6 separate regions of the Homo sapiens genome follow, and regions 1, 2, 3, 4 and 6 are each linked to region 5. The links are contacts of gene promoters, found by promoter capture Hi-C in blood cells and fetal thymus (Javierre and others, 2016). All regions are on one chromosome and are shown on one strand. Each heading gives the region's core, a stretch centred on a gene start or on the middle of the fragment in contact. The rest is flanking DNA. Distances are from core to core; before and after follow the strand shown. Region 1 has its middle 240 kb from the start of SHOX2. Region 2 has its middle 150 kb from the start of VEPH1. Region 3 has its middle 110 kb from the start of VEPH1. Region 4 has its middle 270 kb from the start of SHOX2. Region 5 holds the start of MLF1 (myeloid leukemia factor 1). Region 6 has its middle 96 kb from the start of VEPH1.

Evidence for each region. Contacts are between HindIII fragments. The CHiCAGO score rates a contact against its expected background, and 5 or more counts as called.
Region 1: a fragment that was not itself captured here is called in contact with the fragment with the promoter of MLF1 in region 5 in 1 of 17 cell types (M0 macrophages); the score reaches 5.2 in M0 macrophages.
Region 2: a fragment that was not itself captured here is called in contact with the fragment with the promoter of MLF1 in region 5 in 1 of 17 cell types (M0 macrophages); the score reaches 5.1 in M0 macrophages.
Region 3: a fragment that was not itself captured here is called in contact with the fragment with the promoter of MLF1 in region 5 in 6 of 17 cell types (M0 macrophages, M2 macrophages, endothelial precursors and 3 more); the score reaches 8.5 in M0 macrophages.
Region 4: a contact is called between a fragment that was not itself captured here and the fragment with the promoter of MLF1 in region 5, in 1 of 17 cell types (erythroblasts). The highest score is 5.4, in erythroblasts.
Region 6: a contact is called between a fragment that was not itself captured here and the fragment with the promoter of MLF1 in region 5, in 1 of 17 cell types (M0 macrophages). The highest score is 5.7, in M0 macrophages.

Annotation. Positions count from the first base shown.
Region 1 is chr3:157,867,283-157,871,451 of GRCh38, reverse strand. No RefSeq gene overlaps it. Among named protein-coding and RNA genes, the nearest start is that of SHOX2, 240 kb to the left of the region's middle. RefSeq lists an enhancer at 1-15. The HindIII fragment of the contact is 3,322 bases long and covers 498-3,819 here.
Region 2 is chr3:157,650,784-157,655,090 of GRCh38, reverse strand. No RefSeq gene overlaps it. Among named protein-coding and RNA genes, the nearest start is that of VEPH1, 150 kb to the right of the region's middle. The HindIII fragment of the contact is 2,535 bases long and covers 153-2,687 here.
Region 3 is chr3:157,613,783-157,617,976 of GRCh38, reverse strand. No RefSeq gene overlaps it. Among named protein-coding and RNA genes, the nearest start is that of VEPH1, 110 kb to the right of the region's middle. The HindIII fragment of the contact is 992 bases long and covers 1,460-2,451 here.
Region 4 is chr3:157,839,465-157,843,369 of GRCh38, reverse strand. No RefSeq gene overlaps it. Among named protein-coding and RNA genes, the nearest start is that of SHOX2, 270 kb to the left of the region's middle. The HindIII fragment of the contact is 600 bases long and covers 1,296-1,895 here.
Region 5 is chr3:158,569,176-158,573,287 of GRCh38, reverse strand. It overlaps MLF1 (myeloid leukemia factor 1), which reads right to left and starts at 2,094. Exons shown (of 8, transcript NM_001369783.1): 1 at 1,941-2,094. The coding sequence starts at 1,987. MLF1-DT (MLF1 divergent transcript) reads left to right here and starts at 2,222. Exons shown (of 5, transcript NR_104147.1): 1 at 2,222-3,117. The HindIII fragment of the contact is 5,771 bases long and covers 1-3,789 here.
Region 6 is chr3:157,597,700-157,601,577 of GRCh38, reverse strand. It overlaps the pseudogene SLC66A1LP. Among named protein-coding and RNA genes, the nearest start is that of VEPH1, 96 kb to the right of the region's middle. The HindIII fragment of the contact is 1,026 bases long and covers 2,063-3,088 here.

The DNA of each region.
Region 1 (4,169 bases), core at 909-3,408, 700 kb after region 5:
AACTCTTGCGCAATGCAGAGATCATGACCCTGCTCTCTTGCAGGGGGAGAGAATTCTTGACAATGTATGTCCTATTTCATATTTCCCCCTTTGAATCCGGTTATTACTTCATCTACATGCTTTGTATTGGGGGACGGGGTCTACACATATTTTAAATTTTAAAGGAGCGCGACAAAGCTTTCTTACTTAATCAGAGTCACACACAAATGTAGGCCAGGCTGTTCATCCAGAAGCTTGTATCTTCTTTTGGAAAGTAGGCCATGTCAGTTCACAGTGGAAGGAAGATGAAGATGATGCTCTGTATGACTTCCAAAAAGGTGGGCATCTTTTTGTTTTTATCTGTTTTTCCTATGAGGACAATGACTAGGGTGACCAACTTGTCCCAGTTTGTCTGGGACTCTCCTAGTTTTAGCACTGAAAGTCCTGCATCCTGGAAACCCTCTCAGACTTGAGTGAACCAGGATAGTTGATCATTCTAAGTATGACCCATAAAAGCTTACAAACCAGCATTTTTAAAAGATGTGTGCACAAAAGCACATGCTGCCATCATAAAGGTGGCATGAAGAGGCAGAAGGTACTGATGTCCATCGAGGGTGGGCCTCTGCCCCTTGATTGTCAGCATGTGCTGGGGGCTGGCCCTCAGCTTTGCAAGTGCATTACTGAGATTTTAGAAGCTGATCCATTGTTGATCAGGCTCTAGGTCACAGATGAAAATGGGCTCCTTAGTCAGCAAAAGCAAGGAAGCTCCTGCTGATGTGTATGAGACTTTGTGTGAGTGAGTGATGGGTTCTTGTTGAGCTTAGCCACTAAGATTTCAGAGCTGGTTTGTTGTGACAACTTGTGTCAATATAAAATTTGTCTTGAGGTGAGGTACTATCATTAGAAGAACCTAAAATACATAACATTGCCCTAGCCATCGGGGTGGGTTGTGAGGAAACTAATATTGGAAGCGAAAAGATGATGATCCCTATGGTTTTGTGGCAAAATGTTCAGGTAAACTATTGCTTCTAATAACTAGGCAGGACAACTACTTACCTAATTAATTTGCAGTGCTATGAGAAGATAATGAAAAACAGGACTTTAGTAGTGTGTGATATTATTGGCTATGCTTGACAAGATATTACAAGAAAGATGAGCTCAGAAGAGAAGTGGTCAGTTTATAAAGCAGAAAAGAAAAGGTACAGAGAGAGTTTGAAATTCAGGGCCTTAAAATTTGGAAGAGTTGACTGCTTCTAGAACCCAAACAATAAGAGGTCGTATTTAAAAAGACTTTGAAGGGGAAAAGGTTTCTCACTTAGTTAATAAGCCTCAAGGCAAATATTGCTCAAGCTGTGACCCTCTCATTCAAACCTAATAGCCTAATATCGGTATTCACAATGGAGTTCAGAAAAAGAGGCATGAAGGTGAAGAAGCAAAGAAATAAAACAGATCTAAGAACCTACAAGCTGTAAAGTTCTTTGGGTGTGCTTATTATTTATTTATTTATTTATTTTTTGAGACAGAGTTTCACTTTTGTTGCCCAGGCTGGAGTGCAATGGCACGACCTCATCGGCTCACTGCAACCTCTGCTTCCTAGGTTCAAGAAGTTCTCCTGCCTCAGCCTCCAGAGTAGCTGGGATTACAGGTGCCAGCCACCATGCCCAGCTAATTTTTTTTTCTATTTTTAGTAGAGATGGGGTTTCACCATGTTGACCAGGCTGGTCTCAAACTCCTGACCTCAGGCAATCCACCTGCCTCGGCCTCCCAATGTGCTGGGATTACAGGCATCAGCCACCGCACCCAGCCATGGATGTGCTTATTGTCCAGTGAAGTGAAAAGCAAAGAGAGTTTTTAGGGAACTACATAACTAAAGCAACCATGTAAAGGTATCTGAATATTCAGAACTTAAAACAACCCTGGGGTCCCTAATCGGAAGCAATTTGAGAAACCTGGGATGCCCCTAAGGAGTTCAAATTCCCTAAAGCTCACTTTAAATGTGGCTAAACAGAATAAAGAAAAAGAAGAATCTCCTCCAGGATGAGTCAAAGAGCCAAGGAAAACGATGAAAAAGGAAAGTCTCCTCAGAGAGCAGAATCGTGGCTTAACCAAGGGGCCTCCATCCTGAGGGTAGGAGGTCTGCCCAGCTGGATTCCTGAATTGCTGCGGGTCAGAGGCTGCTGTGTGTCTTCCATTAGTTTCTTTTCAAATGGAAATGTTTACATATACCTTACTGGGTGGTTATGTATGCACATGCATATATGTGGACAGGAAGTAGATAACTTGTCTTTTTTGGATCAGGACCTCAGAACCAAGAAAAGTTACATCATCTGGCTCTGATGGAGAAACAAATTGGACATCATCCAGAAGGATTAAACTTTGAACTGGATGCAATGGTGGATGGATGGAACTTTGGCCGGTCTCCCCTGTGGAGGAATTAGGGCTATTCTGTGTTGGAAGAAAGAAACAAAGAAATATTTGGTGATGAAAAGGGTGGGCCATGGCAGATATAGTAAATGATGATCAAATATTCCATGTACTCACTCAAATTTCCCAGTCTCACTGCAATTAGACTAGGCAGGTATGTGATTAATTAGTGGAAGTGGCCCATTATGCAGGTAGCCATCTTCAGTCTTTTCACATAATTTTCATTTATTTGCAGTACATTTATTTCAGACTACATTTTCTGTCTCTGCCTTCCAATAAATGTCCTGCTTGGAACTTATATCACTCCTATTCACTACCAATAGATGCTATGTTGTTTTTCTTGTGATAATGTTATCAAGCACTTAGGGACCAAAATTTAGTTAACATATATTCAACACTGGACACGCTTCTCCCCAAATCTACCCATCCTTGAAACAGGCTTCTTTGTTTTATGGCTTTGCCATCCTTGGAATCAACTAGAAATGCTAAATACGAAAGTGAGAGATTTCATTACCTCCAGAGCACTGTCTATTTTAAGCCCTCACCATATTTGTCAACTGGGAAACTTTGTCTCAGTGAGCTTTGCAGAGAATGTGATTGGCTAGAATTACAAGTTTTTAGTTTTGGACCACTTCTCCAAAGTGTTACCCTAAGGATTTCAGCAATTCTATTTCTTGGCCTAAAAAGAAGATGACTCATTCAACCAGAATCTGTTCTTAAGTTAAAAAGTCACAAGAGAGACTGTTGCTGATGTGGTAGCCAAAAGAAAGACTGTTATTCAAGTAATTGCTTCCTGACTCCCAGGCCTAGAGTTCTAATTCTATTGATGTCTCTGGTTCTCAAGAATATGAGCTGAAATGCTCATGTGATTGGCCTTATCTTCCTTTCTTCTAAACTGCCTTCCTTAGACACACATGTAAAACTGTCCCTATTCATGGATCATAGCAGATAGGACTAGTGATTCCTTTTCCTCACATCTACTAATTCCTATGAGCTACCATCTTCACTCTTTGCCCAGCTGGTAAGAGAGAAGCCAAGTTATGTGTCTCCAAAGGACAGCACTAGGAAGACTGGGACCCAGAGCAGGCCTGGGCAACAGTGCTGGTGTCCATAGGATGGAGCCCTTGTGAGCAGGTCAGGTCAGCGTTATGACTAGATGTTTCTCATATGATTTGGGGTGTGAGTACAATGATTTCCTACTGGGGCTATTGAATATACCCTCACACCTTTCTCTGTGGTGCCAGGTGATGAGTATGACTTGTGATGGAGACGGTGTGTGGCGGTGGAAAGGGACAGGCTTTGGACATGAGTTCCTCAGATTCTGCAGGCATGGGCTATCTCATTCCACACTTACCACATGGATGCAAGACAAAGTAATTACGAGAGAACATCATCTGAGTATCCAATATCTAAGCTTCTTTAGTCTTGAGTAAAAGTTATTGTAACATAAAACATTAATAAATGACCTCCTATTAGCTCCCATTCAACATTAGTGTCTATCTCTGCTCATGGCATCAGCATCCTTGTCTGTTGGCTCCTGCTGGTTTCCTGATGTGACAAACCCTTGACAATAATGTGAAAACACAAGGGAAATTGACGGCAGAGGGAAATGGGAAATTTTGCAAAATGTGCAAGATTTCATGAAGTTGAGAAAAGTGATGTTTGAAGACTATTTGAATCACATGTAAAATCATTGACAAATGAGGATCTGTCAGGGTTAGCAATGAGAAAGTCAACAGGGATGACTTCACCATGGACATTCAAAA
Region 2 (4,307 bases), core at 171-2,670, 920 kb after region 5:
TCAAATATATGGCATTAAAAAGAGACTCATGTTTCTACACTACAAAATTAAGTGCATTATCTGCTCAAAAGCTGTGGCAAACTGTCATTTTAAATTATATCATATTAATATGATATAGAGGAAGCAGTAAGGATAACAGGTGGCTCTAAGCTTTCCCTGCTTTCAGTGTTGGGGCATGGAAATCTATTTTTACTACCCCAGAAAACACCGTCGCAATGGACTGAATGTGTGCATGTGTGTGTCCCCTCAAAATTTGTATGTTGAAATCTTAATCACCAGTGTGATGGCATTAGTAAGTGGGACCTTTGGGAGGTAATTAGTTTATGAGGGTGGAGCCCTCATGAATGGAATTAGTGACCTTATAAAGAGACCCCAGAGAGCTCTCTTGCCCTCTTTCCACTATGTGAGGACACAGTGATATAGCCATCTATGAACTAGGAAATGGGCTCTCACCAGACACCATGCCTTTCAGCACCTCCATCTTGGACTTCCCAGCCTGCAAACATGTAAAAAGTAAATGCTTGTTGTTTACACCACCCAGTCAGTGTATGATATTCTGTTACAGCAGCCTGAACTGACCAAGGCAACAATACAGTTGTTTTACTGTAACAACAGTAAACAGATTTACTGGTACTTGGCTCCCAACTGTTGTTCAGTATGTGGAAATGCAAATATCAGATTTTAATTTATTGACGTAAAAGCCAAGAGAAGGAAGCCCTGGAATTTTCTAGCTGCTGGCTTCCAGGTTTACCATTTTCAATGGTGCACTTCACTAGCATGAAAATGCTCATATTTTGAATAACAAAATTAAACACACTAGCTAATATGTATGTAATGTTTAGTAAGTGCCAGGTAGTATTCTAAAGGCTTTATATACAATAACTTATCTAGACTTTATACCTGCCCTATGAGTTAATTACTGTTATTATCCTCACTTTACATATGAAGAAACTGAAGCACAGAAGGGTTAGACAACTTGCCCAAGTCATGTAGCTAATAAATGGTATCCCAGGGAATCATATAGATAACATGATAAGTAAAAAGGAAAAATAGACTAGTCTGGGATAAGTGTGATTTGTTAATATTCTGGTTTTTGTAATACGTAGGAAAGGAAGCTGTGATTATTTCCCGTCATTCCTCCTTCCCTTTTCCTCAGGAAACAGACCATCTTGCACAAGCTGAGTACTTTGCTTGGTCAGCACCTTCATCCGCAGAGGTCCACTCTGAGCTCTGACACACCATTTATTTCTTGTAAGGATACCATAGAATGGGCAGGGAGATAGTTTAGCATCTATTCTTCCAAAGATACTCAACAAATCTTCCAGAAAGTACAACAGATAAATTTAAAATGACAGGAAAACATTGCTCATTTTGCTCCGTCTTTTAAAAAATTGGTACTTTTGTGAATTTTTTTCACAGTTATTGAATAACTTGTGCTTATTGTTGGTGAGAGGTAAAAGTAATTATTTAATTTACAATCAGACAATAAAGTTTACTACACAGGCCAGAAAGGGCTGGCTCTGGGCAAAATTGTACAGAGAGCATTTGAGAATGAGAAAACCTGAAAGACATTCTATCTGATCTCCTGACTTTACAGATGAGAAAACTGAGGCCAGAGAATTGACTTACTCCAATTAGGAAATTCTATTATGTGGACTTCTAATCCAGAGCTATTCAGAACATACATTTACATTACACATGGACAAATTCACATAGAGACACACACTAACATGTATGGACTCCCACATATAGAGACACATATGTACACACTTGCATACAGTCACACACTCACAAAGGTACACACAAACACAAACACAGACATACACAGGCATGCACACATGAAGTGCACCACTTTCATAGGAAGCCATATTTTCTGCCTAAATTCTTCATTAATAATCAGATAGTTAACAGCATTACTCTTCCCTAAGAACATTTGCATTTTAATAGATGTCTCCAGAAAATAAAAGTCAAGATACAAAATAAAGAATTTTAATGGTGTAATTTCACACAGAGAATCAGAGATTGAGTGCTGGCCCAATGCCCTTCAAGTTGCTTCTTTGAGGAGGCTTTTTTTTGTCCTTGGGACCACATGTGTGTATATGCAGGAGTGCATAGGTGTTGGTGTTTGTGGACATGTCTCTCTATGAGTGTGTGGGTCCAAGTGTAGTGTATATGTATGTTCTGAATAGCTCTGGACTGGGATTCCAGATAATAGAGTTTTCTAATTGGAGCAAATTACATGCATTCTCTGGCCTCAGTTTTCTCATCTGTAAAGTCAGGAGATCAGGCAAATATTCACTAAATGAACATTCTTGAAAAGATGCTAACATATCTTCTCAATCAAATTTGGCCCCAACCCCTCTTGTCAGAGTTCCACTTTCCCCCAAGTATGATTCATTTAAGAATAATTCTCAAAATAATTGTTGAATGCAAAAGAATAATGTGTGTAAGTTATGAGAGAATTGTTCATTTTTCTCTATTTTTCCTCTTCAAGAAGACAAACTGACTTGGAGCCATGGCTGTGGTTTCCAGCCAGCTGGGTTTGTCTTACTGCTAAAAGGAGACTATAATTCTTTCCCCCAGGATCCTCCTGTTCCTTTCAGGTTCAGAGCTCAGCTGTGGATGGAACCCAAGTGTGGCTTTCCCATTTTTAACATTGAAATACAATGTTCATTAGAACAAAAGCTTCTCGTCCATATTGCTGAGTTCGATATAAGTGGTCTGCCTGGCCCACACATCACAGCTTCCTTCATATTGCAATGATATTGTAAAGCTCACATTGTACATTGAGGTCAAACTCAGCTATTGATCTATTTAAACATAAATACTACAATTAATTAGAGATGGGCTTAAACTAAAATATCTGACCTTTCTGGGTTCTTGAGAGTAGCATTGGAATACTTTCATATAAGAGCTAAAAATCCTGAGAAGGACATTTTCTACTCAAAATTACTTCCAATAAATGACTACACAGGGCTGGACCAAGGACCTGTTTCACTAGTATTCAGAGTATTCCATGAGGTTAGCATGAAATGACCATGTCCATTTACACCAGGGAAATTCAGGGTGGCTGTGGGACAGGTTGGTGAGGAAAAGGCTTGTTTCTTGAAATACGTATATGCCGAAGTGGAGAAAGAAAAACAGGAATATTTTTCACTTGGCTTCTAGCCTCCTGGAGTATCTGTCATCTCCCAGTGATGGATGCTTGCACAGGAAGCATCCATCCATGTAGGAAGATGGTGCTCCACACCATCCAGAAAGCTTCATTCATATTCCAGTTATCTTTCCAGAAATCCAGGAATGGACCAAGGCAAAGGTAGACACCAGGCTCTCACAGAGGCCCCTCAATGGTGATTGGGGGTGGGATTGGGGCCCCCAAGCTTTCCATGCATAAAAGAGCACATGTGTATGCTCGCCACAGTGGCACTCCTGTGGCTTTCACTGAACTAATAGGCAACTCCAGTTTTTTATTGTGTCCAGGAAGGTCCCACATGATGTGACCCCTGCCTATCTCTTCCACTTCAACCCACTCCTTCCTCCCCTGCTTTGCCATGTTCTGCTCTACTGGCCTGTTTTTTCTGTTTCTTGAATGCTACAAGGTTTCTCCTTTCTCAAGTGGTGTTGCTGGGTGGGACTGTGGAACGCTGTGCCCAGATGGTCTCAGGGCTGGCTCTTCCTTGTCATCCCTTCCTCAGGCCTCAGTTCACCTGTCCTCCCTGGCCAGCCTCTCTGAAGTAGGCCTGTCCCTCTCTTTCCACAGTTTTATTTTCCTCTCATCACTTTATTCCTGAGATTCTGTTGTTCATTTTATTATATTTTCTCCTTCTGTTACTCTTGATGAAAGCCTGATGAAAACAGTGAAACTATCTGTCCTTTTCACTGTATTTGACACATAGTAGGTGCTCAAGCATTATTTTTTGCATGAAGAAAACAATGTTAGAGTTTTAAGGGGAGTGCAATGAAAATTTCCCTCTCAAAATTTTCTTCTTCATTAACATATTATCAGGCAGAATTGAGGCTTAAGACACCAACGTATTACACAAGTTGATAGGGCAAAGATGGCTCTGGAATGACATTGGCTATTGGAATAGAACCAATGTCTCATCTTTCCAGACTCTCTAGAGTCTTAAACACAGGGCATCTTGGTGATATTTTGAAATCACACTGAGTTCCCAATCCTGTTCATCAGGCAGCCAGGCACAAGACACCCAGATGAGCAGGCAAGAACCATGTGCTCTGCAGCTTGAACTCAGTCAGTTATTTCCAAGGCATGGTCTTAACTCTTGCTGAAGCCCACCTGCTGAGAG
Region 3 (4,194 bases), core at 706-3,205, 960 kb after region 5:
CAACAGGAGAAAATGAAAGGGAGTCAGGCGTTCATTGGGTATTTGGTCACTAAACAAAATGTCTATGAACTGTTTTTAAGTTTAATATTCTTGATGGAGCTTGCTGGGCAAGGAAAGATAAGGAGTCTGCTGACCTCTAAAGAAACAAGGGGATCTGATGTGGCTACATTGTCCACTGCAGTGGTCTCCAAGTGTGAGAATTATACTACTGATTGTATTGGAGAAAAATTCTTCTCACTGATGACATTAGATAGCATTGGAATCAGGTCCAGAATCAGTTTCAGTTTTGTCCTCTTAGGTCTTTAACATCCCTGAAACCTGCCAATCATCCTTTCTAATAAAAGAGAACGGATTTCCAGCATGTTTTCTTTGCCCAGGCAACAATATACAGTTAAAATTTCATTTACTATTTTGCATTGTCTTTAGTTAATAACTTCCTATTAATGGCAAGTGATACCGCCTTTTCATAAAGTCATGATATAAAATTTCCCTTTAAGATAAATTTATTGAAATAAAAATATGAGTCAATTTGAAGAAAAAACATTGAATTGTATAGAAAGCATATGGACACGGGAACATCTCACGGATGCAGGCCAATAGCAACATGAGCTGAAAAAGATTCTACTCTGGGAACTCAGGGTCTGTTCACTGCTCTGGATCTGCCACTCACCCTCTGTAATTACCTGCGTGTGTTACTTAAATCTCTTTCGACCTCCATTTTCCTCATCCATGGAGTGTGGCTTCTTAAAGCAACTTTTAAAGTGGAATTATTCTTTGCCTGAATTCAGAAGATGGGCATGGAGATAAGGAAGCAAATAGAACATCCTAAAGCAATCTTCGCCAAAGAATGAGTGGGACACATGGAAGACCCAAGGACACACAGAGGTGGTGAATTATGTCCAGCCTCCGACCTGTACTTACCTACAAGCCCCAAATTATAGTCATGGTCTCCAAAATTCTAGCTCATGCATACTAAAGACCCATTAAATCAAAGAAGTATCAAAATATATCATTTCTTATTATGGGATATCAGAAACAGAGTAGAATCCTGCTTCTTAAAGCCGTGCAAAGGACAACCCAGTGGGCATACAATGTGGCTTTGGCCCCCCTGAAGGCAGGCTTCTCCTGAAGCAGAAGAAACACTTGCTGGGGAAAGCTGGGCCTGAGGGGGCCCAGGGGCTGAGGCCTTCATAGCAGAGAAGCACCACATATGCATAGAGCAGTGTCCACGTGGGTTCACATGGACTGCGGGAGCCTGAGATGAAACTCCACCTTCTTCTTCACTGAGCCCCAGCCTGGGCCTCATGCCCATGGTCTGTGTATGCTGTCTCATCCAGCCCTGACACCAACCCTGAAATACAGGTATGTTACCCAGTGTTAACACAGGTGCAAACTGAGGCTCAGAACGAGTGAGTTCCTTGCCAGAGGGCACTTGACTTATAAGTGGCAACACCAAGCTTGAGCCTGGGTCTCTGTGATCTTGGAAATGCAGATTCCACTGCCAGCTGGGACAGGAAGCCTGGGCTCCACATGGGAAGCCATGACCCCCTGTACCCCCCACCATAGACAAAAGCACTGGGGCACAGAGAGATTGGCTTTTCCCCTCTCTGGGGTATGATTGGTGAAGTTAATCAGCCCTGAGTCTCTAGTGTTCATTCTGTGACACAGCACACACACACACACACACACACACGCATGCACGCATGCACATATACACCAAAGTTACCAGTTCCAAACCTTTTGTTTTATTCCTCTTAACCCTCCCCTACCCATTCACTCCCATAAGAACTATGGCCAATCCTGTCCAGGCTTGAAGAACTGGAGCCATTCAGTGATACGCTGCCCTGGGTCACAGATGGCCACATGGAGTGACTGCCCCCATCCCAAAGAAGAAGAAAGGATTCCCCCCGCCTTCCTCCCTGTCTCCATCAGGAACCTACATGATGCTTCCTTCTCCTGTGGCAGACGACTCTCCTCTGTCCACCCTAGAATTGATCTATGAAATATAAAACTAAGTCACCAAATGAGAGAATAGCCAATTGCCAGAAAACACAATAAGCAGCTGAATTCTTGTGCTCTTCTGAAATGACCCCAATATACTCAGTAGGTACCATGTGTCAGGCACTGCAGTAGGCAGGGGGTGGGAAAGAAGAGGCCTAGGGCCCCACTCATGCTCCCTTAGAAGGAAAGATGCAAAGTGGTATGACTTACTACAATCCATGGTGGAGTGAAGCGTCATGTCACCTCTTTGTGCATTGGTTGTTTCTTTTCCATTGTCAAATGGAGATAATAACACCACCTATGTTGTAGGGTTGTTTTGAGGAAAAGACCCATACACTTAACATGTGGCCTGGTACATAATAATACATGCTATGCACCAACATCCTTCTCCTCATCATCACCATTGAGATAATGACCGTGTTAGACTTTGGGTGACATTAGGGGTAAGCTTTGATGGCTGGAATTGGGCAGATAGAGAGGTTTGTAGCAAGAGCAGTGTGGTGCTCTGGGTGAGGGAATTATTCTGAAATAAAGTCAATGGGTGGAAAAGCTGAAAGAGAGAGGTTGAGTTTAGGGAACTCTTAGAAATGTGGCTTGGCAGGAAAGCAGGCCTGTGAAGGGAGCGGTGAGCCAGTGTGATGAAGGACCTGCAACTCTGAGGTGAGGAGTTTGAATGGATAAGCAGTGGAGACCCACCAAAGACATCTATTGATTAGGGTAAGATAAGGAGATAGGTATTTCCTCTGAGTAAAGTAAACATAGACAGGGAAAAATCAAGGCAAGGGAGACCAGTCAGGTAGCAGTAAATCATCCAAACGACTGAAAGGTAAGCACTTTGACCTGGTGTATCCTGACCAGGGTGACTCAGAAATCCAGACACCGTTACTCCCTGTTCTTTCTCCTCTGAAGTGTGGCTTCTATTCAAACAGAGCAATGGGAATCACCATTGTCAGAAGCTGAACTCACATGCCCATTGCCCAATGCCCCATACAGGAGAAATTTAATGAAAACCCAAGTCCATTTCCTCTAAGATTGTGACTTCTAGTCTTTCCTGGAGCTTAAAAGGAAGGCTGAGACAAAGTTCGGATGAAAGTTTGCAGAGCACCACTGACCTCAGCTCCTGGTCTGAGGACAGCCTGTCTCAGAGACTCCCTTGCCTCTTCTTTCTGGGATTGTGATTGGTGGGTGCAGCCTGAGACGTGGTTGGCTGAAGAAGTCTCTTCGTGAGGGAATTAAGCTACTGTGGCTTCATAGGAGGCCAGTTCCAGAGCCGTCTCACCTCCCATTTACCTTCATCCTCTCCTGTGGAACTGGTGTTTTCCTTAGGCCCAAAAGGAGACAAGAGCTGTGAGAGAGGGAGGTGAGGTTTTTTTTGTTTTTTGTTGTTGTTTGTTTGTTTGTTTGTTTGTTTTGAGATGGAGTTTCGCTGTCGTCACCCAGCCTGGAGTGCAATGGCACGATCTCGGCTCAATGCAACCTCCACTTCCTAGGTTCAAGAGATTCTCCTGCCTCAGCCTCTCAAGTAGCTGGGATTACAAGCACCTGCCACCATGGCCAGCTAATTTTTGTATTTTTAGTAGAGACGGGGTTTCGCCATGTTTGCCAGGATGGTCTCGATCTCCTGACCTCAGATGATCCATCTGCCGAGTTTGGCCTCCTAAAGTGGTGGGATTACAGGCAGGAGTCTTTTGAGAGGATCCATCACAATGGTTGGGCAGAAGCTCAATGATTCTAACTTGGCTCATGAATGGCGTGGGGGTAGGAAACACAGCCAAAATATTGGCTATGATTTGAATGTGTCCCCTCCAAAATTCAAGTGTTGCAGTGTGATAATATAAAGATATGAGGCCTTAAGTGATTGGGGCATGAGGGCTTCTCCTGGTGAATGGGATCAAGGCCCTTATAAAAGTGCCTCTGCACGCAGGCTCATTTGCTTGGTCTTCTGCTAGCCCCCTTCCAAAGGATACAGCCTCCACCAGACACCAAACCTGATGGTGCCTTGATCTTGGACCCTCCAACCTCCAGAACTGTGGGAAGTAAATTTCTGTCTGTTATAAATTACCTGGTCTGCGATACTCATAGCACACAAAACAGGCTAAGACATCATCCATATTCACATCTGTGTATTGGTTAATTTTTACTTGGGAAACAGTTTTAGTTCCTTCTGCTAATATAGAATGTAGGGATTCTAGG
Region 4 (3,905 bases), core at 346-2,845, 730 kb after region 5:
AAGATGGGAATAAATAGAAGATTTTTTTTGGAGGGAGTATGAATTAAAGACTCCTTTCTCCCTCCTCTCTTATTTCCACATAAATTAATCCTACAATTTAATAAACTAACAGGTGGTTCCACTTCAGGCTGAGCAGATGTTAGACTGAATGAATGGAGTCCCCTCTTGTGTTCAATCTATCCCTGAGCTCTTTCTTTCTTTATCTCTTCCCATTCCCTTTTCTTTTCCCCTATTTCTGCCAGATTTATGAGCAGCTACGGTATGAACTGTTTTGTTTCAGCAATATGAATATTAATGAGTGACAAATGCTTATTCTAGACGTATTGGTGACATTCATAATTCTGAATGTGTAGACATTTTTCACCAAATAATGAGGTACCAGATTGCCATACCAGGAAAGTTCCTTCTCTTGGTGCCTATAAGTAGATAATTTCTATTACTTTACAGATGGGACTCTAATAAATTGGAAACTTATTCCAGAAGAAGTTAAGAAAAAATACAACATTAGACTCATCACTCAGAAAATCCCTATATTGCTCAGATGCATTATTACTTCAGTAACATCTTTGACTCCCTTCTTGCCCCCACCCCAGTTTAAAAGGAAGAGCTTTCTATGTCTTCTTCTCTTCAGATCTAACCTAGAAATGATTTCATGTTCTTAGTTTCACAGAGACTTTGTAAATAATGGAATATAAGAAGTAAATCAAGAGAGAATTGTAATGTTCCCAACACAAAGAAAACATAAATATTTGAGGTAGTGGATATCCCAATTACTCTGATTTGATCATTATGCATTGTATATATGTATTAAAATATCACACATACTCCCAAAATATGTAAAACCATGATATAGCAATAAATTTTTTTTTAAAGGCTAGAAGACATTTGTTGCTTCCAGTAAATCTTTTTACAATTCTTCACCCAGGGAATGGCTTTTGGACAATGTTTAAAATGGCACTATTTAGGTGAAAACTGTTTTTCATTTTTTATACTAAAATTACATATATATTTTATGCTTTTGACATAAAGTCAGATTGTACTTAGTAAAGACTTATTTTCTGGGTCGTACTTCTGACTCCTGACTAAAAATATACCTGGAAGCTCATGGAATGTTCCTGGCTCTTCCAAAGCATTAGTAAAAGTCACTTTCTCTGCTTGGGACTATCCAGACATAGTGGAGACATGGCTGATGAGAGGAAAAAGTCCCCTCAGCAACCAATCATCAAGATTGAGACAACACTGAAAAATATCCATCCTGTTCCTGGCTTTTCCCCTTCCATTCTTTTCCTAAAGCTTATCTTCCAATAAGAAAGGAAGATAAGGAAGCAAGAACAGAAGATATGATTTCTCTTAGTATTGGGATAGTTTCATCTTTGATTTTAGAAAAGCAGCAAAGAATACATTCGATTTCTATCACTGATTATAAGTGAGGCCTCTGGAAAGTTAGGACATTATCTACGTACATAAATGAGTTTCTTCTACTTATAAAATAGAGTTGTCAGAACCTGGCGGGAGGTAGAGAGTTCTGAGAAGATGAGGTTAGTGTGTGAACCAGAGTGAGGTGTGGAAGGATTCCCTCAGTGGCCAATAGGCATAACGGCCCATGGTTCTACTTTCTCTGGTCTTATTCTGCATCTCTGATATCATTGGTTTCAGCCTGCTGTTTTCTTTGTCACCTACACTCTGATTTATATTGTGCCTGAGCTTGACTTTTTCTATCAAGCCTCATTCCATAGTGTACCTGATGTTGATTTGACAATGTGATTCTCATCAATTACCTTTCTCATTTACATTCTTGTTTGCTGCCTCGATTTCTTCCTAAATCTTGACCTCTGAGTTCTTGAGCCCAGGCCAACAGCCTGACTTCAGCTCTGATAAGTTTTTCTTAACAAGCTTAGCATCAAAGACCTGAGGCTGTACCCTGATAGGAGCTAGTGTCCCCTGAATTTCATCTCAGATGCTATGGAAATTATTGCTAAGAATACCATCTACCAGGCATCAAGTATCTGTTAGGTTCTAGACTTTGTAATAGAAATTTTATACATGTTATCTCTAATATAATGTGGTATCTCTAACCTAATGAAGCTGTATAGTGTGCAGTGTAAGAGCGTAAACTCTGGCATCTGGATCCCTGGATTTGGATTCTTGTCACATTTATTAACCGTGTGGCTTTGAGCAAGTTACTTAAAACTCTATGTGCTTCAGTTTTCTTATATATAAAATGAAAATAGTATTAATCATAGAGAGTTTTTGTGATAACTAAATGATTTAAAACAAGAAATATGCTTACGATAGTACCTGGCACAGAGAAAAGCTTAATAAATGTTAGCTATTACAGTTATTACTATTTTCAGTCAATATTCTTTGGAAGTGTGAGCACATTAAAATATCATTGTTAAAGTTAGTTTGTTTAGGTTTCTTTTTAATTACTTAATTAAAGAAATTTTAGATTATTTTATCTTCTAAGTAGTTATGGTACAATTATTTTTATTTTTGTTTGCAATGAAAAGTGAAACCATGGAGATATCTGGAACATATTGTTATTTTACATTTTTTTTACTTCCTATGGAAGAATACTGCCAAAGAAGTATTGTTTTTGTTTTAGTGAGAAAAGAATTAGAAAATAGGAGAACAAACCAGAAAAAGCTGACACATCACTTAAACCTACAGCAAATTCGACCCTGTGGATGTCCATAATTAGGCAAAACTTGAGATGTGTTTAATGGTATCAGGCATCTTGTTCTTGTTCTACTGATATTTCTGCTTCTAAAGTAACTGGATCTGGTCCGGACTAATATCACCTAAAATGGTGAATTATAAAACTCCATAGCAATTGTTCATTTGACAAGTATTTTTTTAAGTACCTACCCTGTCCTAGGCACTGTCTAGCTCTGGGGGTTCAGACATGAACAGGGCAAGCAAGGACAGTCCCCTCTTGCCTTTGACATTCTGTTTTTTTTTTTTTTTAAACAGAGTCTTGTTCTGTTGCCCAGGCTGGAGTGCAGTGTGTGATCTCAGCTCACTGCAACCTCCACCTCCTGGGCTCAAGCAATTCTTCTGCCTCAGCCTCCCAAGTAGCTGGGATTACAGTCGTGCGCCACCATGCCTGGCTAATTTTTGTATTTTTAGTAAAGATGGGGTTTCACCATGTTGGCCAGGCTGGTCTCAAACTCCTGACCTTGTGATCTGTCGGCCTCGGCCTCCCAAAGTGCTGGGATTATAGGCGTGAGCCACTGCACCCAGCCTTGTCTCTGGCATTCTAAAGGGGGGAAATGTGCAAGGAAGAATGTCAAAGATGGTGATGTGATGGCGAGTGATGGGGCAGGTGGTTGGGCATTCCTTAGGGTAGGGCAGTAGAGGAGATGTTAGAAAGGAGCCAGCCATTGAAGACCTGGGGCTGAGGGGACAAGCTGAGAACAGATCACATTCAAGAACGTGCCATGAAGTGGGAATGAACATGGACTATTGGAGGAAATGAAAGAAGCCAGTGTGGCTGGAATGTCAGGATAGGTGGACCACGGTAAGAGTTTAGATTTTTAGTGAAATATAAAGTCACTGGAGGATTTTTTTCCCAATTATTTGTGATTTTTTTTCTCTTTTTTTTATTATTATTATACTTTAAGTTTTAGGGTACATGTGCACAATGTGCAGGTTAGTTACACATGTATACATGTGCCATGCTGGTGTGCTGCACCCATTAACTCGTCATTTAGCATTAGGTATATCTCCTAAAGCTATCCCTCCCCCCTGCCCCCGCCCCACAACAGTCCCCGGTGTGTGATGTTCCCCTTCCTGTGTCCATGTGTTCTCATTGTTCAATTCCCACCTATGAGCGAGAATATGCGGTGTTTGGTTTTTTGTTCTTGCGATAGTTTACTGAGAATGATGATTTCCAATTTCATCCA
Region 5 (4,112 bases), core at 845-3,344:
GCGAGCAAAGAAAACAGCGCAATTGGCATGGCAACTTCCAACAACTTCGAAGAGAAAGCACAACTCTCCAACTTTGTCGTGCTCTCATTGACACATTCCCCACTCACATGGAAAATGCTGTTTTAAAAACTTCCCCTTTTCAATGAACTGTCATGCTATAAAATATTACCTGTTCCTATTTGGAATTTAAAGAGGAGCTATAAAATATTCCCTGCTCCCATTTGCAATTATGTGAACATAATTCTCACCATAAGTTTCACCGAGATGGTAGTTATGTCACCTGCAAAGCCCTTGAAGCTGCAAAGGCCAACTCTGCACACAGGAAGCCATGACGGGCACCCAAAGTCCGGCCAAATGGAAAGCAGCAGGCACCCCGGGAGTGTGAGGAAGGGCCTTCTTTCCATCTCATGCAGCCAAATCCTCCTCCCCCTACCTGGGGCCCTCAACTCTCTACCTCACGTCCTCAACCATCCTCCTGCGACCTCACGCCCCCAAACCCTCCTCCCCCCACTGCACGCCATCAACTCTCCTCTGTCCACCTCACACCCTCAACCCTCCTACCCCCACACCTCATGCCCCTAAACCCTCTTCCCCACACCTCATGCCCCCAAACCCTCCTCCCTCCACCTCACGCCCCAACCCTCCCTCGTCCCACTACCTCTCACCCTCAAACCTCTTCCCCCTACCTCACGCCCTCAACCCTCCTCCCACATCATGCTCTCAAGCCCTTCCCACCAACTCACGCCCTCAACCCTTCTCCCCAACCCTCCTCCCACACCTCATGCCCCCAAATCCTCCTCAGCCCCTAAATCCTCCTCCATCCACCTCACACCCTCAACCCTCTTACCGCCACCTCACGCTCCCAAACCATCCCCACCAACTCATGCCCTCAATCCTCCCCTGCACTTCATACTCCCAAACCCTCCCCACCAACTCACGCCCTCAACCCTCGTCCCTGCACTTCAAGCTCTTAACTCTCCCCTGCACCTCATGCTCCCAAACCGTCCCCCCACCTCACGCCCTCAACCCTCCTCCCCCCACCTCGCGGTCCAAAACCCTCCTTCCCCTCACCTCACACCCTCAACCCTCCCCCACACCTCATGCTCCCAAATCCTCCTCCCACCTCACGTCCTCAACCCTCCTCCTACACCTCACACCTTCAACTCTCCCCCACACCTCATGCTCCCAAACCCTCCCCCCACCTCACGCCCTCAACCCTCCTCCAAACGCCTCACACCCCCAAATCCTCCTTCGTCCATCTCACACCCTCAACCCTCCCCCCTCCACCTTACTCCCCCAAACCCTCCTCCTCCCACCCCACGCTCCCAAACCCTCCCCCCACCTCACAGCCTCAACCCTCCTCCCCCCACCTCACGCTTTCAAACCCTTCCCCCACCTCACGCCCTCAACCCTTCCCCTCACCTCACGCCCTCAACCCTTCCCCTCACCTCACGCCCTCAACCCTTCCCCTCACCTCACACCCTCAACCCTTCCCCTCACCTCACGCCCTCAACCCTCCTCCCTCCCACCTCATGCTCCCAAACCCTTCCCTCACCTCACGCCCTCAACCTCTTCTCCCCACCTCATGCCCTCAATTCTCCTCCCCCCACCTCCCGGCCTCAACTCTTCTCCCCCCACTCCCAGCCTTAACTCTCCTCCCCACACCTCACGCCCCCAAACTTCCCTCCGCCTACCTCACGCGTCCAAACCCTCCTCTCTCCACCTCATGCGCCCAAATCCGTCTCTTCCCTGTCTCACACACCCCTAAATCCTCCTCTCTCTTCCCTCCCAGGCCTCCAAATCCTCGTCTCCTTCAAACCGCCTCCAGAGTTACTCCGAATTCTCTCTCGCCCTCTAAAACTCGCTCTTTTCCCTTAAAATAGCTCCCCTCGATACCTTAATTCCCGCGCGACCCCGGACTCCTGGCTCCCGTAACTCACGAGAAGAAGGGGTCATCCTCAAAACTGCTGTTCAGCATCCTGAACATTCTGGCTCTGTCTTGGGTGGCGGCAGCCGCGGACAGATTGGAAAAACGATGTTAACTCGCCGCGGCCGCGACAAGAGCTAGCCTCCAGTACGGACGACGCCTCACTCGCCGCGGCGCAGGCGGTGCCCGCCGGGATAGGAGGTGCGTGACACCGAGCTGCTTTCCCATTGGACATTGCTCTGTGACGTCACCAGGACGAGGCGGGGAGCAATGCGCCGCTGCCCTGGCAACCGCAATCAACACAGTGGAGGCGAGAAGTCTGGCCTTGCGCCGGCCGGGGAGCTTTTCGCCAAGGCTCCTGTGGGATGGGATAGCTTGTTCTCTGGGCTGCAGGAACCAAAACATTAGACCACCCTTTCTGTGACCTTGGGCATGCCGCCCTCGGTTCCGAGCCGCAAGTCTTTCTTTCGGGGAAAATGAAAAGGGGTCAAGATTTGGACCAGATGACACCCAATGTCCCATTCAACGGTCGCATTCTGTCATCCACAGGAATTAGTCCTGTATCCGAAACATTCTCTGGTAGTCAAAAGCTGTGAGCAAATAATAAGAAAAAATGTGCAAAACGTTTTTTAGTACAGTTAGCAAATAGTGTACTCAGTTGTTGAAGGAAATGGGATGAAGCCTATCAGATTTCAACAAACTTATTTACCTCTTGAGAAAGCTGCTCTCTTTTCGGTTGTCCTTCTGTGTCTCTCTTTCAAAGATCAAGTCTCACTGCGATGCTGATATGTTTTTAACACTTCTCCAGCATTTCTTAACCTAACAGCAGGTTTCAGGCACAGGCCTGCAGCAAGCAGCCATATCCAACTAAAATTCCACTACTATATGTTTTTATTTGCATTACATTTATCAGGGAGCTTTCTATTTATGGCAAGGAAACTGATTTTAAATTTAAATCAGTGATATACATCAAGAGCTAGATTTTGCATTTTTAAGTGAAAAAGTAAGCTATCAAATAGAACAGGTGGAATTTGGATATGGTGGGGCGGAGGGGTAGGCAGAGCAGGGGAGAGGAACATCGTGATAGTGGTACTCAAATTACTAAGTTTTAGAAAACACTATCACGGGGCCTTTCAGGAGCCTGGAGACAGATGGAGGGGAAGACAGAAGAGAGATTAAGGAGAAGAATGGTAAGAGTATAAGAAAAGAGAAAATACATCTTGCATGTCCACCCTTAATTCAGTGAGCTCCCCAGCTTCTCTACGTGGCTGTCTTGCAGAGATAAAGGGGCGTCCATAGCTCATCAGGGCCCCCTGGGATCAGGCCAGAGGGGTGGCACTTTGCCAGCATGAAGAAGTGTGCAAGCCCTGATTTGGAGGTGACAGGAGTAGTCAGGGGTTATTTTGAGAGCTGGAAATTTAATCGTTTGGATCTTTTACTCCCCATCCCCCTTTTTTAGCCAAGTTCTCTGGCAGCTTCCTTCCCCTGAGACTGGTGGCATGGGGTAGGGCAGACTTCACAGCCCAAGATGAGATGGCACAGCCCATCCAGGAAAGAGGATATTTTCTTTTCCTCTGGACTCAGAATAAAGCTCAGAGAACATATACACAAAATTTCGAAAATTTCTAAATAAATTTCAAGGCAAACAAAATTGTTTTATAAGACCTTAAATTGTTTTTCTCTTTAAAATAGTATAAGCACAAGATGTGAAGGAGGCCACACTTAAAAAAAAACTTGAAATGGAGTAAGTTATGTGATAAAAGATGGTGTTAAAATAGTTCTGGATTAAGGCCAAGTAAATTTGTAATGTTACCCTCTAGTTTCTGTGGGAACTTTTTTAGAATCACATTGTTATAAAAGCTTTAGTCCAGGCACAGGTTAGTCAGGGAATTAGCTGAACCTTGTGAAAGCAGTTTGGATCTAATGACAAATGCAAAAAAAAAAAAAAAGGAGGGCAGAGCAGAGTTGGCACTGAAGAGACCTTGACATCATTTTCAGAACTGATGGGTAAGAGGTGGAAATGAAAGAAAGCGTGGGTCAGGAGAGAATGAATACTCCAGCATGGGAGGAATAGAGATGCAGAACAGGACTGAGAGGAGAGGGTCCTGGACTTGGCTGTAAATATAATCATAATAGCTAATATTTATTGAATGTGTGCCAGGCACTGTTGTAGGCACTCCATATG
Region 6 (3,878 bases), core at 1,326-3,825, 970 kb after region 5:
CTTGAAAAGAAAAGCTCTAAAAGAGCAAAGACAATATTTCATTTTAATTTCCCTTGGTGTTAAAGAATATTCTCAAGAGATGTTGATCTAAAAATAGACTATCAATTATCCAGAACTTAAACTGACTTATATTTTTTCATCATGAACTCCAGATTCAGGACATAATCTCCACAGCCCCTCATTTCTCTGGATCAGATTTCCTATCAAGTGAGGGAAATAACTTTCTTCATAAGAAGCACTGCATACTTTAATTTTTTTCCAAAAGTAATGCTGGACGTAAAAATCTGTTACCCATGTTTTCGGGAAAAAGGAAAATGAAACAGGAACATTATCTCGTGTTTACATTTCATGATGACTTGATATTCAATTTACTCACATTTACAGGCAAAACAACCTTTTGACAATTCATTCATCTAAATTAATGAATTGTTCTTACCCTAGATGTATATAATATTGCTCTTTAAACATTTGCCTGACCAAAGATAGAGTGATTCCAAAGATTGTGCTTTTATTTGGGCTTTAAAATTAGCTGCAAATGGATGTGGAGTTTTCTCTGGGTCTTGCGAGGTGTTTCACTCTTCTTCCAAGCCATGTAACTCAATCTTGCTCTTCCCTGGTGTTTGTAGGTGGCAAGAGCTGTGCTGGAGGTTGAGGCCTTGCTCGAAGACACTTGCAGGTGCCACTTGTCTGAAAAGTTCTAATCTATAGTTGGTAGAAATCACAGCAGGCTGAAGGCCAGGGGATTTCTCCTGGGCTTTCCACTTTACCTTTGTGATTTTGTCTAAGTCATTTAACTTCCTAGGGCCTCAATGTCCTCATTTGTAAAATAAGGAGATAAGTCTATTCCTTTAAGCACTACCTTTCTAGATTGTGTGACATATCATCTGCAAAGTGCTTCTATTAGTCAAGAGAGAGATACAAACTGCCACATAACAGGGCCTCTGTGGTTTATAATGATAATAGCTAATATTTTTTGAGGCCCTACCATGTGTCACGCAAAGTGCTAAGCACTTTACATTTACCACACTATTGGAAAATAGAAAGATAAATTTTTTAAACATTCTAAACATTTCAGTGTAGAATGTCCAAGAAACCTTCATTGCTTTTATGTATGCCACTTGACTCAGCTAATATACAAATCATCGTTAAGTTATGGTCATATACATTTGTGCATTAATTTAACAAAATTCCAAGTCTTAAGTCAAGATAAATCTTCTCTTAGAAGTATTTATAGTAGTATGGCATAAACAACTGTAATACCCAGGCATGCTAATTTCACTTATCTGAAAGAATATGGGATATATACAGGGCAGAGGACTCCCCAAAGTGACAATCTGACTTTCTCTCTGGTGATGGAGTCTTTGAATAACTGAGGTTGGAATATCCTGGGGAAAGAAGGGAACATCGAAAATAAAATATTACTCAATATTTACATTTCAATTTCAACAATGCTGATTTCCATCCCAAAACAAAATACCAACTTGCAAAATCTTCCATGAAATTTTTGTGAAAAATTCCATGTGAAAAATTCCATGAAAATTTTGTGAACTAGATTTGCTTGTTCACAAACAAGACTTTTTGGCATCGCACTTCTACTCACTTAAAAAATGTACTTGATACAGCGAGAGCTGGATGAGACCAGATAACTTTGTACATTTAAGGTATGTTTATGGTAGTCAACATGCTGCTAATGAAAACTTTTTGATCATTGAAAAGTAAATTGAATAACAAGTTATAATGAATTATAAAAACATATGATGATGATTATGAACCAAAGTTCTTTCATCATAAATTTTAAAATGTGCTGTAGATGCAGTACATTAAAAAAAACTTTAACGTTCAAACCAAATTGTAATTAGCTTTTATACTAAAAAACAAAACAGAACAAAAAGTAAAGATTATGAAGCTCAGCTTCTTAGTCTTGAAAGAATGTTAAATTTTACACTTAGGCCATTTTAAATTATCAGTGTTAATTTAGTTTCAATATTTTACTAAACACGAAACAATGCACATGTACAGGTGTGTGCTTGTGTCCCCTGGTTCCTGACCTAAACATTAAGCTTTACTACCTAGTTTCTGAGCTGCAGTACAATGAAAAGGGAGGGTAGAGTTACTTTTATTCTTTGCATACGTCTTAAACATTTAAAAATATAAAGAATAAATTTTAAACTTGTCAGTTCAGAATTAGGCCAGAGAGGCTCAGGAGCAATGATAGGGTAATGGAAGGAAGGACATGAAGACATGAAGGTAGAATCATGTCCTTTCACAGTGACCCAACACAGCTGTGTCTCCACCTTCTTCAAGCCCCGGCAGATGTGTTACCTTGTGGAGATATACTGCCAAGTGAAAGTGGTTTGGATGTTTTCTTTCTCCTTTTCCTCCAGGCCTCATCCACATAATTCACTAACCATTCATATGACAAAACTACGTAAACTACTCGCAGGAAAATACCCATTTGTGAATATGCAAGTGTGTCCCACTAGACAGAGGGATGCAGCTCACCTACTAAAAAATGTGCAGACACAAAGCGAGCTTTCCATAGAATTCCTGTATCAGACCAACGAGGTGTGTGGTTTCAGGAATCTAGGGAAGGGCTCTTGCTCTAAGGACAGCCATGGTTAATGTTGGCATGCCAACCACTTTAACACCTTCACACAAAGACTTGCCATTTTTCTACAGCATGTTAAAAAATATAGAGTGAAAGTCTACCCAGACTCCTGGGAGAAGCTATTCATTCTTTTTTTAAATTTTATTTTAACAAATATTAATTGACTGCCTACCATGCTTCTATAGGATATCCTGGGATCCAACAAATAGACAAAATCTCAGCCTCCATAAATCTTATGTAACAGTGGAGGAGACAAGTAGGTCATGACCAATGCATTTATGTGAATGGATTTTACCAGTTTCTTCTATAGTAGTATCACCCCGAGTACCAAGACAGAACTGGGCACTTTAAACCTGAGAAACTGACTATGTCCATGTCCTAATTCCTCAGCTTTTCTGTGGCTTTTTCATGTTCCCATTAACGGCACAATTCTGAAGTTGTGTTTTTGCCACTAAGACATGTTAGAAAGATATTTAAGCTTTTGTGGCAGAATAACAGTGTGAAGTATTAATCAATGTTTTCCCCCTGTCCTTGGTATTTCCTTTTTTTCACTAGTAGAGAAAAACTTAAATGCATATTGTTCTTTAAAACTATTTCTGTTAAATCTCAGAGTTTTTCCAACACGATTACAAGGAAAAAGCTAAATGATGGGCTGGATACTTTTTAACTAAATGAAGTCAAGACCTTTATGTAAGAGTAAAATAACAGAATGAAGTTAGAGAGGACACAGAGCTGGTGTGTACATTACATGTTTAGGTGAGTGACTTGATTTCCAGCAATAAAATTCTATCAAATTCAATTTCCTTTCACAAACTTACAGTGAGTAAATGCAATTTCCCATTCCAAGCAAGCATGTCTCTAAGATTAAACTTATAGTCCATAGAAGATAACAATAAAAGTTTAAAGTCAGTACTTCTCCAAGGAAATTACTGCAAACCAGTTAGGGAATAATTTTATGACAAGAAACAGAAGAAATATAAACATGAAGAAAAGAGACCTTCATCCTAATCTTGCTGTTTATATTCTTAGTGTGTTTAAAATAATCTTCTTGTATTTCACTATTATATATTAAGAATTTCTGGCTGACTCAGTCCTTCATATTCACCAATTCCTATGCCAATAGTCTCCCATTCTTCAAAATTAGCCATGAAACTGAGTGCTGAAGTTTGTGATCCTCTAGCTTTGGTCACAATTTCAGCCAAGGCTAAATCAAATGCATTTCAGAGAAGGTTTAACCTTCTATTCCCATTACTCCTTAGTGTTATCCACA